Linked DNA regions of Homo sapiens: regions 1 and 3 are each linked to region 2. The links are contacts of gene promoters, found by promoter capture Hi-C in human tissues and cell types (Jung and others, 2019). All regions are on one chromosome and are shown on one strand. Each heading gives the region's core, a stretch centred on a gene start or on the middle of the fragment in contact. The rest is flanking DNA. Distances are from core to core; before and after follow the strand shown.

Region 1 (4,524 bases), core at 368-2,867, 220 kb before region 2:
CAGCCTCCCAAAGTGCTAGGATTACAGGCATGAACCACTGTGCCTGGCCTAAAATAGACAGAAGAGAATGTGATGATGAAGAAAATCTTCAAGAATTGCCATTTATATTATTTGTTATGGTATTCACAGCTTTTCAAAAAATTTCTCCTAGTTCTCTCAACTCATCTATTCTCCACTCCCAGTCATTCCCAATGCACATTTCTGTTTTAGCATCATGATAATGGATGCAATATAGCAGAACGCCTAGGGGCATCAGGCTGCAGTGAGCCATGATTGTGCCAATACACGCCAGCCTGGGTGACAGGGTCAGACTCTGTACTCAAAATAATAATAATAATAATAATAATAATAATAATAATAATAATAGTAATAAATAGAATGCTTAGGAGTGGGAACTTTGGTGGTGTCCAACTTTTGGAATTTGAATCTTGGTTTCACCACTGTCTTTCTTCTGGCTTTGGTTTCTTTATCTGCAAATGAAGAAATAAACAATCCTTACTTCTTGTGGTTGTCATAAAGATTATAGAAGATAATGCATATCAAGCATCTGACACATGGTAAACACTCAGGAAATATTAGTCAGGGTTAATTTTACTACTACCATCATCTCTATTCTGTGAGGATGTGTGTCTTAAGGGAAAGGACTATTTTACTCAGCCTGTGATCCTCATGATACCTTGTATAGAGTTGGTATTTAACAACTATCTAGTGGAATGCAATCCACATTTAAACAATACTCAGTGCATTGCAATTGGCCCTCAGGTTTTCTGAAAATCTGACTATTATAATCAGCATGTTCTCTTTGAAGGTATTGTCGGTTGTCAAGTTGAGTGTTTGAATGCCCCACTGCCCTAAAAAGAAATTCATGATGATATTTCTCAAAAAACATATTCTACACATGCAAATGTTGCCTTATTTTTTGAACATCCACTTCTTAGATTGGATCCTACTGTGCTGTGGTCTTCCCTGGGAGCCTGATTTTTATGAAGCTGGTAGGGGGCTGGGTGCATAAAGAGATTCACAGCTGAGGAAATCAGACAACTGAAGCTCTGAACAGCCTCAGTGAGAAAACAGCATTCCTGTTTCCTCTGTGCCACAGTCTTGTCACCTGCTTTTCCATACAGTGGTGAAACAGAGGTAGAAAATTGATTTGGCAAGTCACTTCTATTATAATCTTAGTGTAGCAGGACGAGCCTCAGACAAAACCCCTCAGACACCGAGTTAAAGAAGGAAGGGCTTTATTCGGCCAGGAGCATCAGCAAGACTCATGTCTCAAAAACCGAGCTTCCCAAGTAAGCAATTCCTGTCCCTTTTAAGGACTCACAACTCTAAGGGGGTCTGCATGAGAGGGTCGTGATTGATTGAGCAAGCAGGGGGTATGTGACTGGGGGCTGCAAGCACCGGTAATTAGAACAGAACAGAACAGAACAGGACAGGGATTTTCACAGTGCTTTTCTATACAATGTCTGTAATCTATAGATAACACAACCGATTAGGTCAGGGGTCAATCTTTAACTACCAGGCCCAGGGTGTGGCGCTGGGCTGTCTGCCTTTGGATATCAGTTCTGCCTTTTAGTTTTTACTTCTTCTTTCTTTGGAGGCAGAAATTGGTCATAAGACAATATGAGGGGTGGTCTCCTCCTTTATTCCCCCTTTTGAGAACTTCACTCATTAGTGGGAGTTCTCACTTTCATTCTAACTACCCATGTCTTCTTGCAAGACAGATCAATAGTGATTCATATAGTACACTTGTGCTGAAGCATTTTGATGAACTAAGGTAGCGATGAAGCTTTTTATCATTTGAAGAAGTAGAGGTAGCAAACAAGGGAGCAGTAAGCAGGTTTCTATTACTATTACAACTCCTATTTGAAGAGTTTTAAATCTTCTTAGTGCTGGGAACCATTTTCTAAACATGGCCCCAGGATCAAATCCATGCCACACTTGCACGGGCACATGTGCTAGTTTTGTCATATTTCTAACTATGTCTTCAACTACTTGCCCTTGATCATCTACGTGTAGACAGCAATTAGTAAGGTTAAATTTCCTACAGATCCCTCCTTCAGCTGCTAGCAAGTAGTCGAGAGCCAATCTATTTTCATAGATAGCATTTCTCATATGAGTTTCTTGCTGGGCCAGAATAGTCAAGGCTCTGCCAGTCTTATTAGTGACTATTTTTAAGACAGCTTGTAACCATATGATTTGGTTGAGCATGTAAATGGGGGTCTGGTATCCCCATGAGTCATCTTGTGCCCAAGTGCCAGGCACATAATATTGTATGATTCTCTCAGGGGGCTGTTCATCTTCTTTTTAATTTTCTATAGCTATGCTTCTCTTTTTGCAGAAAGCATAGACAGGGAAGCCCAGGAGTTCACCTGTCTTTATGGGCAGTAGGAAGAAAGATAGTTTAATAGTGCCAATAACACAACTACCTGCCCACTGGTCGGGTAATTTGGTGTAAGCTCTATGCCCACATATTCAGTATAATCAAGTGGGGGCTGTCCAGTCCCAGTGGGACTCCAGGTGGGTCCACACGGTTTGCAACTTTGGGAATTTACTAAATGGATTTTTCTTAGTGTGGTTTGAACTCCACTAGGTGGCTGTTTTTGTAGTACTATTATACAGTTTTTGCCCAAGGCAGCTGAGTCTTCCCACAGGAAGGGTGAAGTCCTTCCCCACTCTTGCTATACAGTATTGTCTAATGACTGAGGCTTTTAGGACCCAGAAGTTATCAGGGTGATTCTTTTGAGCTGGGAATTCATCAGGAACTGGGTCTGTAGGTACTAATTCTCAGGCTTCCCATGGCCATTGATCTCCCATTACAGTTCCTCCACATACATAACATGAAGTGACATTGAGAGACTGGGCTACATGCTTGGTTAATTGCAAAAACAAATTTCTTGTTTTTCCTGGAATTTCTGGTACTGGCACATTTAGTTCATCATAGAAGGTTTGAAATACTGGCTCAGGAGAGCGTTTATAAACTTCTCCTCAAACCACGATATTTACTTGAGGATCCAGTCCAGCCCCATCGATTCCTAGGGTTACATGCTCCCCTTATTTCCAGCGAGGATCAAGGGAGTTGGTTATTACTAGTTCTAAGGGGTTACACAGACCACTGGTACACGAAGGGTCACTTTTCCCTTTCTGAAGATGGACAGGATTCCTTTCATTTTTTTATCCAAGTAGCCTAAATGACACAAGACCAGTATCCACATTCATTTCCACACAGTCTTAATTCATGACAAATGTACTTATTTTCTGTCATATAGCCTCTTTCCTAATTAAGAGAACCACATCCTATTCCTAACTTATTACTATTAATGACAGCACAGGCATCAAATTTCAAGGTGACTTGTTTGGGCACTCCTTTTTCTTCTGTTTTGGCTAACACTTTACTCATATCATTTATGAGCCCTCACTAGTCCTCAGTCCTTAATCTTATTTTAAAAACTATGGTCATGGGAGGCTCAGATGGGTCATAACACACATCAGCTTGGGGGCTACATACCTTGTATAGAATAGCATTATACAAACAAGTTCTTTTTAGAGTCCCAGTACACTTATGATAACCATAAAATAATAGGACTGTAGCAACTTTTTGTCCTACCTCAGTGACTTGATGTATACACTGGGAATAGTAATCAGTCTGAGGAAGGTCAGTTGAAGTCCTTACTGTACGAGTCCAAATTTTAAGGAAAATGAGTCCCACAATGAGTTTTCTCATGCTTCGGGCACATGTGGACCAGTCAGCTTCCAGGTGTGACTGGAGTAGGGCTTCTCATCTTCTTCAGAGTCACTTTGCAGGGGTTGGTGAAGCTGCTCCCATCCACGTACAGCTCACAGCCTACTGATGTTCAAGGATGGTCTCAGAGTTTGGGCCCACTAGAATAAACTGAGTCCAATACCTTTACACACTTACGTTCAACTGGGCTCTCTGATACTGGGAGCAAGGTGGTGGGGTTTAGGTTGTTGCAAACTTCAATGGTTATGTGGGGATTTTTACATAGCAAGCTTTGGTACTTGGTTAATCTAGCATTTGTTAGCCTATGATGCCCTTTGGTATTCATCAAAGTTACCACAGCATGGGGGGGCCTTTATATTCAGGTTTTGCCCAAGGGTTAGTTTATCTGCTCCTTGTGCTAACAGGGCCATTGCTGCCAGGGCCCTTAGACATGGGGGCCAGCCTTTGGAAACCCCGTCTAGTTGTTTTGAGAGATAGGCCACTGGCCTTGGCCAGGGCCCTACAGTCTGGGTTAAAACTCCAATTGCCATTTTTTCTCTTTCTGACACATAGAGTGTAAAGAGTTTTGTCAGGTCAGGTAGCCCCAGGGCTGGGGCTGACATGAGTTTTTCTTTTAACTCATGAAAAGCTTGTCACTGTTGGTTGTAATAGATGTAGTTTATCCAATCTACATTTTCATTAACTGTCACCCACCAAAATATTGACTCAAATCCTGCAGCTATTTGATTTCAAGCTTTAAATTGATCTGGTATTCCCCGAGGGACTCTCATGTCTAAATAGAC
Region 2 (4,408 bases), core at 1,030-3,529:
ATGAGATCTGTCACTTGAGGAATTACTTTTTGGCTTAGACTCCACGGACTTCATTTTGAGCCCTTTGGCGATGAGAAAGGCTAAAACACAAATGAAAAGAAGGCTCTCTAAGACATAGTGTTACTCACTTCAAAGAGGGTAACGCAAAAAGGAGAGGTGCTTTGCCATAGATTACCACCAATGCCAGGCAGTTTGAGGAGTGGCTGTACCCAGTTGCTGTGCCCAGTGAAGACTCAGTACCAAGCTAAAGTGGCTGTGATAGCCAGCAGCAAGAGTGACACCTACAGATGCATGGCTATTGGAACAAGGGGCAGTGCTGCCCGGCATACGCTATGTGGTTGCTGCGAGCACATGTGAAATACCTCCTAGGGACTCCCCAAAACATGGGTGGAGCTTTGTAGGGTACTGGGTACTGTTTCCTGCAGTAGCAGAGAAGATAAGAGCTGGTAAAACACAGGCTACAAAACTCATTTACTAAGGTAGTCACTTTTTTTTTTCCCATTCCTATATCTTTGCCTCTTAAACTTGGGTAGGCTTTTGTTTAACAATAGCAAAGTAAAATCTTCTTCCTTAAGTCTTTATGATACTTCTCTAGCAAGCCTGGGATGTGACTGAGTTATTTTTACAATCTGCTGTTTGGTTTTCCTGTCATTTACTCCCTGCTCAGCAGAGCTCTTCTGCAGTGATCATTGCGCTTGTTTAGCAGGCAGGCTACATTCTACACACTTGCTTTTGCTGATCTCACCTTAGCATTTTGTGGTAACAAAGCTGTGTGCACAACCAAAGTTGTGCCTTTCTTACTCTGTAAGATGGGCTGCCTTCCTGCAGATGACTTTTGTTCTATGTTCCACTGTGTCTTGTTTGTGCCATTCTTAATTTACACGACAGAGATGCTGTCATCACCAATTAACATTAATCAAGGGCCCCCTGGATGCATGGCTGCATTGGGACTAATTTAATATGCTCTTTGTTCCAGATATCAGGTGGCTTCTTCAAATGATTTTTAAGTATCTCGATGATGATGAAGAACAAAGACATCAATCAGGATTCAGGAAGACAGCTTTTGCGGAAAATGCTTAAAGGGAAGCATCAAGGATTGGTGTTGATATTTGAAAGTTTAAGAGTGGTATACTTTTATTCAGTCAACACATGACAAATGTAAAAGGCACTCATTTGTTGTTCCTGGAAGAAGCCTGGCAGCATTCCATTCAGACATCTGCCCTTTCATCGTCCCACTTTTTACTTATTGCAGTCCTTTCAGTCTGAATATTTCCTCCTGACGCATCTTCTGCCGTCCGAAATGACTCCCTGCTCCCAGATCCTGTAGCCCTTATTATTGACACCTTTCATTTAGAAATTTAGCACATGTCACATTACACCATTATTGAATAAATAATGAATAAATAAATAAATAAAGATGTATGTCCTTCCCAAGTATATCAGAGAACTATCTGGACAATTTCTTTCTTTCCCAATTCTCAGAATCAGCAGTATTCTGTCAAGAAACATTTATCGACGATGATGGCAATAGTCGATTAAAATCAGATGAAGTTTTATTTTTAAAAAAAGGTTGAGCGGAGAGACAAGGCTGAAGGTTTGGAAGTTGAGACAACCATCTTCAATAAACGTTTTCTCATCTAAGGGCTGTATGTACATCATTTTGGGGAAGGTAGAGATTGAAGGAGGAAGAACATCACTGGAGGAAGAGACAGCAGTTTGTCTTTCGAGTTTCAATAAAGTTTCAAAAATCTTGCCTAAGTTATATATTTTTTTGGCCTTTCCCTTTTGATGTGACAATAAACTGTAATGCGGCTGTCGTTTGTACGAACCGATATTCAGCAGAATAAATCTGAGCACTTTCAGAAAAAGAAGCGTTCGGTTTTCTCATAGATGTTAGCATGAAGAACACACTTTGACCTTTGATGCTGTCAAGCACCTGGGCCAGCGAGGCTGGCGGCTGGCGAATTCCACCAGCAAGCAGACGCATTGCTGCGCAGGACCCGGCGAACCAGGGACCGGTCCACCCAACCCAGGAAGGCACCCCCGGGGTCCCGCCCAGCCCGGTTCCGGGAGCCTTATTGGCCGGCCTTCCGCCCGCCATCTCTATCAGCCCCAGGGATTTGGCAAGGGAGGTAGGCGGCTCCCTTTCGGCCACTCATTGGTCAAATCCTAATGGAGGTAAGGCACTCTGCGAGTCTCTATTGGTCCCTAGGCTCCAAAAAGGGCGGGGAAAAACAGACCGACAGGCCTCTAGGCGGGAAGCGCGGAGTGCGCCGGCGCGTAGTCGGGGACGCCGGGCCGAGGCTTTGCTAGGGAACACTGTTATCGCCCCGCCCCCTCGGAGCTTTTTCTCCAGTTAACTGTCGGAGTAGCGGGGGCTCCGGCGCCGGGCGACATGCCGGTGCGCTTCAAGGTGAGGCTGGGGTCCCCGGGCCGGAATGTGGCTGGGGGGAGCCATGGCCGGGGAGGTGTGGAGCGCCGAGGTCACGCTGCTTTTCTGCGCTGCAGCCCTCTGCCCGGCGGAAGCTGCCAGCCCCAGGGCCTGCTCGAGGGGCCCCAGAATCTGCCCGCCGCCTCTTAACCTAGTTCCCTCTCCGCTCACTCACATTTGCAAGCTGCAGTGTGTCGAAGAGTCAGATGGTGCGAGACACATTTACTTAGGGGGACTCAAGAGGAGTGGAGATGGGAGGAGGTCCCTTTGCGAAGAGAACTAAAGGCGACTTCAGATTGGGACACCTGTGGCCCATTTAGCTTAGCATTTAACCCCCATTACCTTTAAAACTTTAGTGTATGTGGCTTTTAAAGGCTTGAGAAATGGGTTCTTAGTAAAGACAGCGTATAAAGAAATACACGTTTTTCATCGTTGTGCATTCTTAGCGTATGTTAAAAGTTCCAGGTAGCTGGTAGCTGTCAGGGACTAGCACCCTGCAACTTCACAGGTGGCCACAGCGTCCCACATCTCCTGACTCATTTATCTTAAAGGCGTGTATTCAGAATGGAAGGGGAGTTTGCCTTTTGTTGACTTTATCAAATAGCAAAAGGTCCTAGGCATGGTACATAATATTGTGTACTCGGTGAAAACCTGCGATAAATCTAGAATGATGAGAATTTAGATTGTCATTAGTTATCCGACAAGAACTCATGCTTTGGAATCAGATAATCAGTGAAAGGGTAACCTCTGAGCCTGGAATTCCTGGTAGCATCTGCCTCAAGTGGTGTTGTGGATTAAAGGATATAACACGTGTGAACTGCTTAGCACAGGGCTGGGTGAATATTAGCTCTTATTAAGGAGCTCGTCTGTGTTTAATTTTCAGTCTTAAGTCTCTTTTGGGAGGTTCAGAAATTATTTTTCACCGATGTCTGCTTTAAAACATCATTCATTAATTGGACTGTACTCAAAAGTGTACTTTGCATTACAGGGGCTGAGTGAATACCAGAGGAACTTCCTGTGGAAAAAGTCTTATTTGTCCGAGTCTTGTAATTCCTCCGTGGGGCGAAAGTACCCATGGGCTGGACTTAGATCAGATCAATTAGGTAAGTTGAGCAGGCTAATAGCCATTCTAACCTGGGCTAAGTTTATAACTTGGGCCAAGCCGTTATAACTTGGGCTAAGTAAACCTTGGGCTAAGTTTACCAAATGATATATTAAAAGTTCAGTTGGCCTGGTTGATTTATTCATTTATTAATCAAGTATTTATTGAAGGTTTACTATGAGCCAGGACTATTCCCAGCAGCTAGTGTGGCAGGCCAGGTTTCACTAATGGAGGCCTCCATCACAACTGTTTCGGTACTGACTGAGCGGTTAAGTTAAATATTGAAAGCTAAAAAAAGCCAGTGCCCTTACACAAAGGCTGGGATGTCACAAAAGCCCATCAAGAGTATTGCCTAGGCCTTTCCTGGGCCATAAAGCATGACAAAATAAGGAATTCTTAACAGGATCCGTTTAGGATTAAACAAGTTTTACTGGGGGTCTGAAGAAACTCCCCAGGCCTCCACAAATTTATTGGCGGTCTGAAGGAACTCCTCAAACCTCCATGATTCAGCAGGAGACAAGATAAGGGTAATCAGCCCAGCACCTAGACCCATTTAGATTAAGTAAATTTACTGATGCTCCAGAAGAAGGTCTTCAGGACTCAGACCTTAGTTATAGATTAAAAGAAGTTAATCACTTATATCCTTAGATGAATGCACACTTACACGTAGACATATAGCTTAGAAGGTATATAAGCTCTGAAAAACTTTGTAATTTGGGGTTCGTCTGGTGATAATTTGCAGGCCTTCTTCCCGTAACTGGTTATAGAAATAAAAACTCTCTTTCTCCCTAGTTTATCTGCATCTCGTTATTGGCCGAGAGAAATAGCAGCCTGACCCTCAGTTTGGTCTGGGAACACTAGGGATATAGCCCTGA
Region 3 (4,669 bases), core at 929-3,428, 180 kb after region 2:
AGTCTGAGACTTCTTATGATTACCGACATAAACAAGATAATGGATATAGTGAGATTAGTTCTACCAGCTGTGGAACGTGTAGTGGTGGCAAGATCATGAATGTCAAGGATAGAGAGGGTTAGACATCTGGGGCTTCCTTCTCAACAATTTCACATAAACCTCCAACAGCAACAGTAGGATTATGTGAAATAGATCACACAAAGGATCATTTGAGTCATTGACAATAATCAGGGGTCATTATTTTGATTATTGGGTAACTAAGTGACAGTGGGTGAGATCTGATGCTAAAACTTTTGAATCTTTGATGAAGCAAGATTGGAAGTAAATTTGGTTAATTTTGGCACAACTACAGCTAATATGATCTGCTACTGGTGTCTCCACTCTTGTTTGAATTAAGATTCATTGATGCAGACTTTGATGTATAAACAGATGAAGGGCTACTGTGAAGCTGTCTTGCCTGGACCACAGTTCTAGACCATACTTCTGGGGAAGGGATTGGAAATTCCCACCATCGATCATCTTGAGCAGTGATTAATCATACCATGTGTAATGAAGCCCCAGGAGATAAATTTTAATCTAGGGCTGGATAAAACATTCCCTCTCTCTGAGGTTGATCTCAGTTTGGCCAGACTGTGAGACATGAAGAGATATAAACTGTATTAGGTGCTGTGATTATAGCAGGGAATGAGACAGGGAGAAGATCCTTTAAGAGAACTTGAGTTGAGACTGGCCTATGCAGTGGTTGTCAATTATTCTCTATGTTGTATGTTTCTTCTCTTATGAACACACCTAGTTTCAGAAGTGTGATGGAGCTTGTAGGAGGGATGGACCATGCTTTAGACTAAGACACCTTGGGGGCTGATTCCTCTCCCAATGCCAGCAGGGGCAGGTATCTCCCAAATCTTATAAGCAGCTGGGACAGCAGCCTGGGCTTGCAGTGGGAGAGCCCTTATCGTATAGCTTTCACCCTTAGTGACTTTCAGAAATTGCTGGCATATGCTTGCTGGTGGGGCAATTTTTGGTGATTAAAACTTGAGCATGAAATGTCAATGGATTTTCCTGTTCTTTCTTATCCTGTTCTCTTCATTCTTCTCTCCTTCCCATTTGAACAATATTATTCTAAATCAATTAAGTGCATCAGAGTAAGGTAGACATCTGTAATTGCCCACTATGGGCAGCCAAATTCCAGGCACAGTGTGTAGGGAGGAAACCTGGTGTGGAAGGTGTCAGAACCTGAGCAGAATGAGGAGAAGGTCCTTGAAGAGGTGGGTGAGCATATTAGTTTCCTATTGCTTTGGTAATAAGTGACAACAAACTTAGTTGCTGAAAAAAAAAACCCACGTTTATTATCTTATCATCATGGAGGGCAGAAATCCAAAACTAGGCTCAGTGGGCTAAAATCAAGGCATCGGCAGGGCTTGTTCCTTCTGGAGACTTTAGGAGACAATCTGTTTCCTTGACTTTTCCAACTGCTAGAGGCCACTCTCATTCCTCAGCTAGTGGCCTCTTCCTTTTTAAAAGCCAGCAGAAGAGTATCTTCCAGGCTCTCTCATTCTTTCTGACTCTGATACTCCCGATTTCCTCTTATAAGGACCCTCGTGATTACATTAAGACCTCTTGAATAATTCAGGATACTGTCTCCTCCTTCTTAAGATTTTTAACTGAGAAGTTTTTTTTTTTTTTTTTGTTTGTTTGTTTTTTTTTGCCATATAAAGCAACAGTCCCAGATTCAGGGGACTAGGATGTGGACATCTTTGGGGGTCCATTATGCAGTCTATCACAGTGCGGCAGCCTGACATGGGTCCTCTGAACCTTAGCCTAGCAAGGAGGTGCCCATGTGGAAGAATGGCCTGGAGTAGGGTGTCAGAGTCCAGGCAAGGTGAGGAGGACATCTGTGTCCTGGGATGGCCCAGCATGAGTGTTAGAGTGAAGTAAGAATGGCATCTGCATAGGGGAAGACATATTAGTGCAGATGGGAAATTAATTAAGTAATTATATTAAAGATAATGGGAGCCAGTTTTCCTCACTATTGAAGGAAGGTACAGTACAGAAAAGGAGAAAATTAGAATAAACCCTATGATATTGAAATAGAATTAGATGTATCAGTATTAACTTATGCTCTTCAATATATAGAGGTAGATATAGAAATAAATAATAGATAGAAATATTAGTTCACCCTAACTCTGTCCATTGAGGGGGCCTGGGAGTAGTAACATCTCGATAACAATGAGAACACTGATCACCCATATCTTGACTTCTAAATACCATTCTTTGCTAGAATGAACCAGAACTCCTTGGAGAATTGGCTGATCCCAGAACAGGGGTAGTGAAAGTACATGAAGTGCTAGAAAAAAAAGAAGTATTCAGAGGATGATGGAAACATGTTAAAAGGAACAGAAACCAGCTTGAAGGGACTCCCACTAGTGAAATATGAGAAAATTTGAGCATCAAAATAAATAGTGATAGTAATGTATTATGACCTATTGAATATAATAGGAAACCATGAGTATATATTGATATAAATGAATACACCAAAAGTTTGATGAGGAATGGTATAGCCACATCATTGCAAAATATCTCCCTACAAAATATTTATTAATTACAAATTGGAAAGGAGTAATTTTATGGTAGAGAAGCTTAGCAGATACCATCTTAATCAAGGAATAAAAGTGAACATCCTTAGTAATGAGATAAATGAAAAGGGTATCCTACCTGATAGGTTGCAAGAAAACGAACATAGCACACCTTTTGTGATATCTCTGTGAAAGATGCATAACCTATTCTAGTCATGAGAAAACATACAAATGCAAACTAAGAAGCATTCTACAAAATATCTTGTCTGTAGTCTTCAAAGTATCAAAGTTGTATAAGTTAAGGAAAGACTAAGGACTGAAGAACAGTTTTGTTCTGAAATGAATTATAGAGACATGATGGCTAAATGCAATGCAAGTTTCTAAACTGAATCCTTGTGCAGTAGAAATCATTTTTAGAACAACTGGTGAACTTGAATGAGGTCTGAAGATGAGAGAGTAGTAATATATCAATTTAAACTTCCTGATTTTGAGGTTTGTATCATGGTTAAGCAGGACATGTCTTTGTGGGTAGGTAGTGCACATGAATGTATTCAGAGGTGAAGGGGCATCAGGATAGCCACTTACTCTGAGATGATTCAGGAAATATAAAGCTTTTCCAACTCTTCTGTAAGTTTGCAATCTTGTTCTTTCTTTTAAGACAGGATTTGACTCTGTCACCCAGGCTAGAGTGCAGTTCGTGCAATCACGGCTCACTGCAACCTCCGCCTCCTGGGCTCAAGCCATCCTCCCACCTCAGCCTCCCGAGTAGCTGGGACCACAGGCATGGGCCACCATGCCCAGCTAATTTTTTATTTTTGTACTTTTTGTAGAGATGTGGTTTCACCATCTTGCCCAGGCTGGTCTTGAACTCCTGGACTTCAGTGATTCACCCACCTTGGCCTCCCAAAGTGCTGGGATTTGAAGGCGCCCAGCCTGCAATATTTTTTCAAAATATAAATACGAAAAAGTCACTCTGAGATTATTTCAGAGTCACAGACTGGTGAGGTCTAAAATTCTTGATGACTCAGAATTCCCCATATTTAACTTGCAACAGGTGAAATTTCCAAAAGTAATCACACATATATATTCACCCCATCCCCATGCTCTTCTTGTAATGTGACTGACACTCCCCCAACTTAAAGATGAGGGTATGGTCCTCCCCTAAATACTGGGCGGGGGCTTGTGACTTTGCTTACCAGTGAAGTGAAATGGAAATGAAGTCACATCCTTTGAAGTCTAGGGTGCAGTCTCTACCTGGCTTCTCTCCATCTCAAGACTTTTGCCCTCAGAACCCAACATCATGTTGAGATGTTCAGGCTGCATGGGGAAACCATGTGTGCATATTCTGGCCAAGAGTTCCAGTAAGGCTTCCACTCAGCATCAGCACAAATCATCAGATGTGTGTGAGCAAGCTCTTAGATGATTGTAGCTCCAAGCATTTGAATTTTCCAACTGAGGCCTCAATGAAAAAAACCATCATGGGCTGGGTGTGGTGGCTTACACCTGTAATCCCAGCACTGTGGGAGGCCGAGGCGGGCGGATCACCTGAGGTGAAGAGATTGAGACCATTCTGACCAACATGGTAAAACCTCATCTCTACTAAAAATACAAAAATTAGCTGGACATGGTGGCACATGCCTGTAGTTCCAGCTACTCAGGAGGCTGAGGCAGGAGAATCGCTTGAACCCGGGAGGTGGAGGTTGTGGTGAGCTGAGATCATGCCACTGCACGCTAGCCTGGATGACAGAGTGAGACTCTATCTCAGGAAAAAAAAAAAAAAAGAAAAAAAAGAAAAAAAACCATCGTGACAGACTTCCAATTTTAGCTCCAACATATACAGAGCATGGAAGTTGTTACTCCAGCCTTTAAAACAAGGAAAAGCTGGACAAATAAAACCAGCGAGTTTTTTAGTTCCATCATAGAACGGAATTTGCAGGACAAACTGCCACAATAAAATCTGGAGAGTAGGCAAATCCAGAAATTCACAGCCAAGATCTGCTTACTTGGACCTGAATCCACTGGAGTAATTAACTTGTTAAAACACTTAAATGGTAATTTTGATGACTTGCTGGAGGCTGAGTGTGGACTAGCATGGG

Evidence for each region. The method cuts DNA at HindIII sites, captures the fragments that hold promoters and counts their contacts. A contact is called where the count stands out against the background at its distance.
Region 1: a fragment that was not itself captured here is called in contact with the fragment with the promoter of MDM1 in region 2 in 5 of the 25 tissues and cell types used here (H1 embryonic stem cells, adrenal gland, mesenchymal stem cells and 2 more).
Region 3: a contact is called between a fragment that was not itself captured here and the fragment with the promoter of MDM1 in region 2, in 1 of the 25 tissues and cell types used here (neural progenitor cells).

Annotation. Positions count from the first base shown.
Region 1 is chr12:68,544,634-68,549,157 of GRCh38, reverse strand. No RefSeq gene overlaps it. Among named protein-coding and RNA genes, the nearest start is that of RAP1B, 64 kb to the left of the region's middle. The HindIII fragment of the contact is 5,997 bases long and covers 1-4,524 here.
Region 2 is chr12:68,330,233-68,334,640 of GRCh38, reverse strand. It overlaps MDM1 (Mdm1 nuclear protein), which reads left to right and starts at 2,279. Exons shown (of 15, transcript NM_001354969.2): 1 at 2,279-2,413; 2 at 3,420-3,534. The coding sequence starts at 2,396. It overlaps LOC105369819 (a long non-coding RNA gene), which reads right to left and starts at 2,010. Exons shown (of 3, transcript XR_945057.3): 1 at 1-2,010. RefSeq lists a silencer at 2,079-2,338 and an enhancer at 2,639-2,728. The HindIII fragment of the contact is 12,003 bases long and covers 1-4,408 here.
Region 3 is chr12:68,148,902-68,153,570 of GRCh38, reverse strand. No RefSeq gene overlaps it. Among named protein-coding and RNA genes, the nearest start is that of IFNG, 8.5 kb to the left of the region's middle. The HindIII fragment of the contact is 7,218 bases long and covers 1-4,669 here.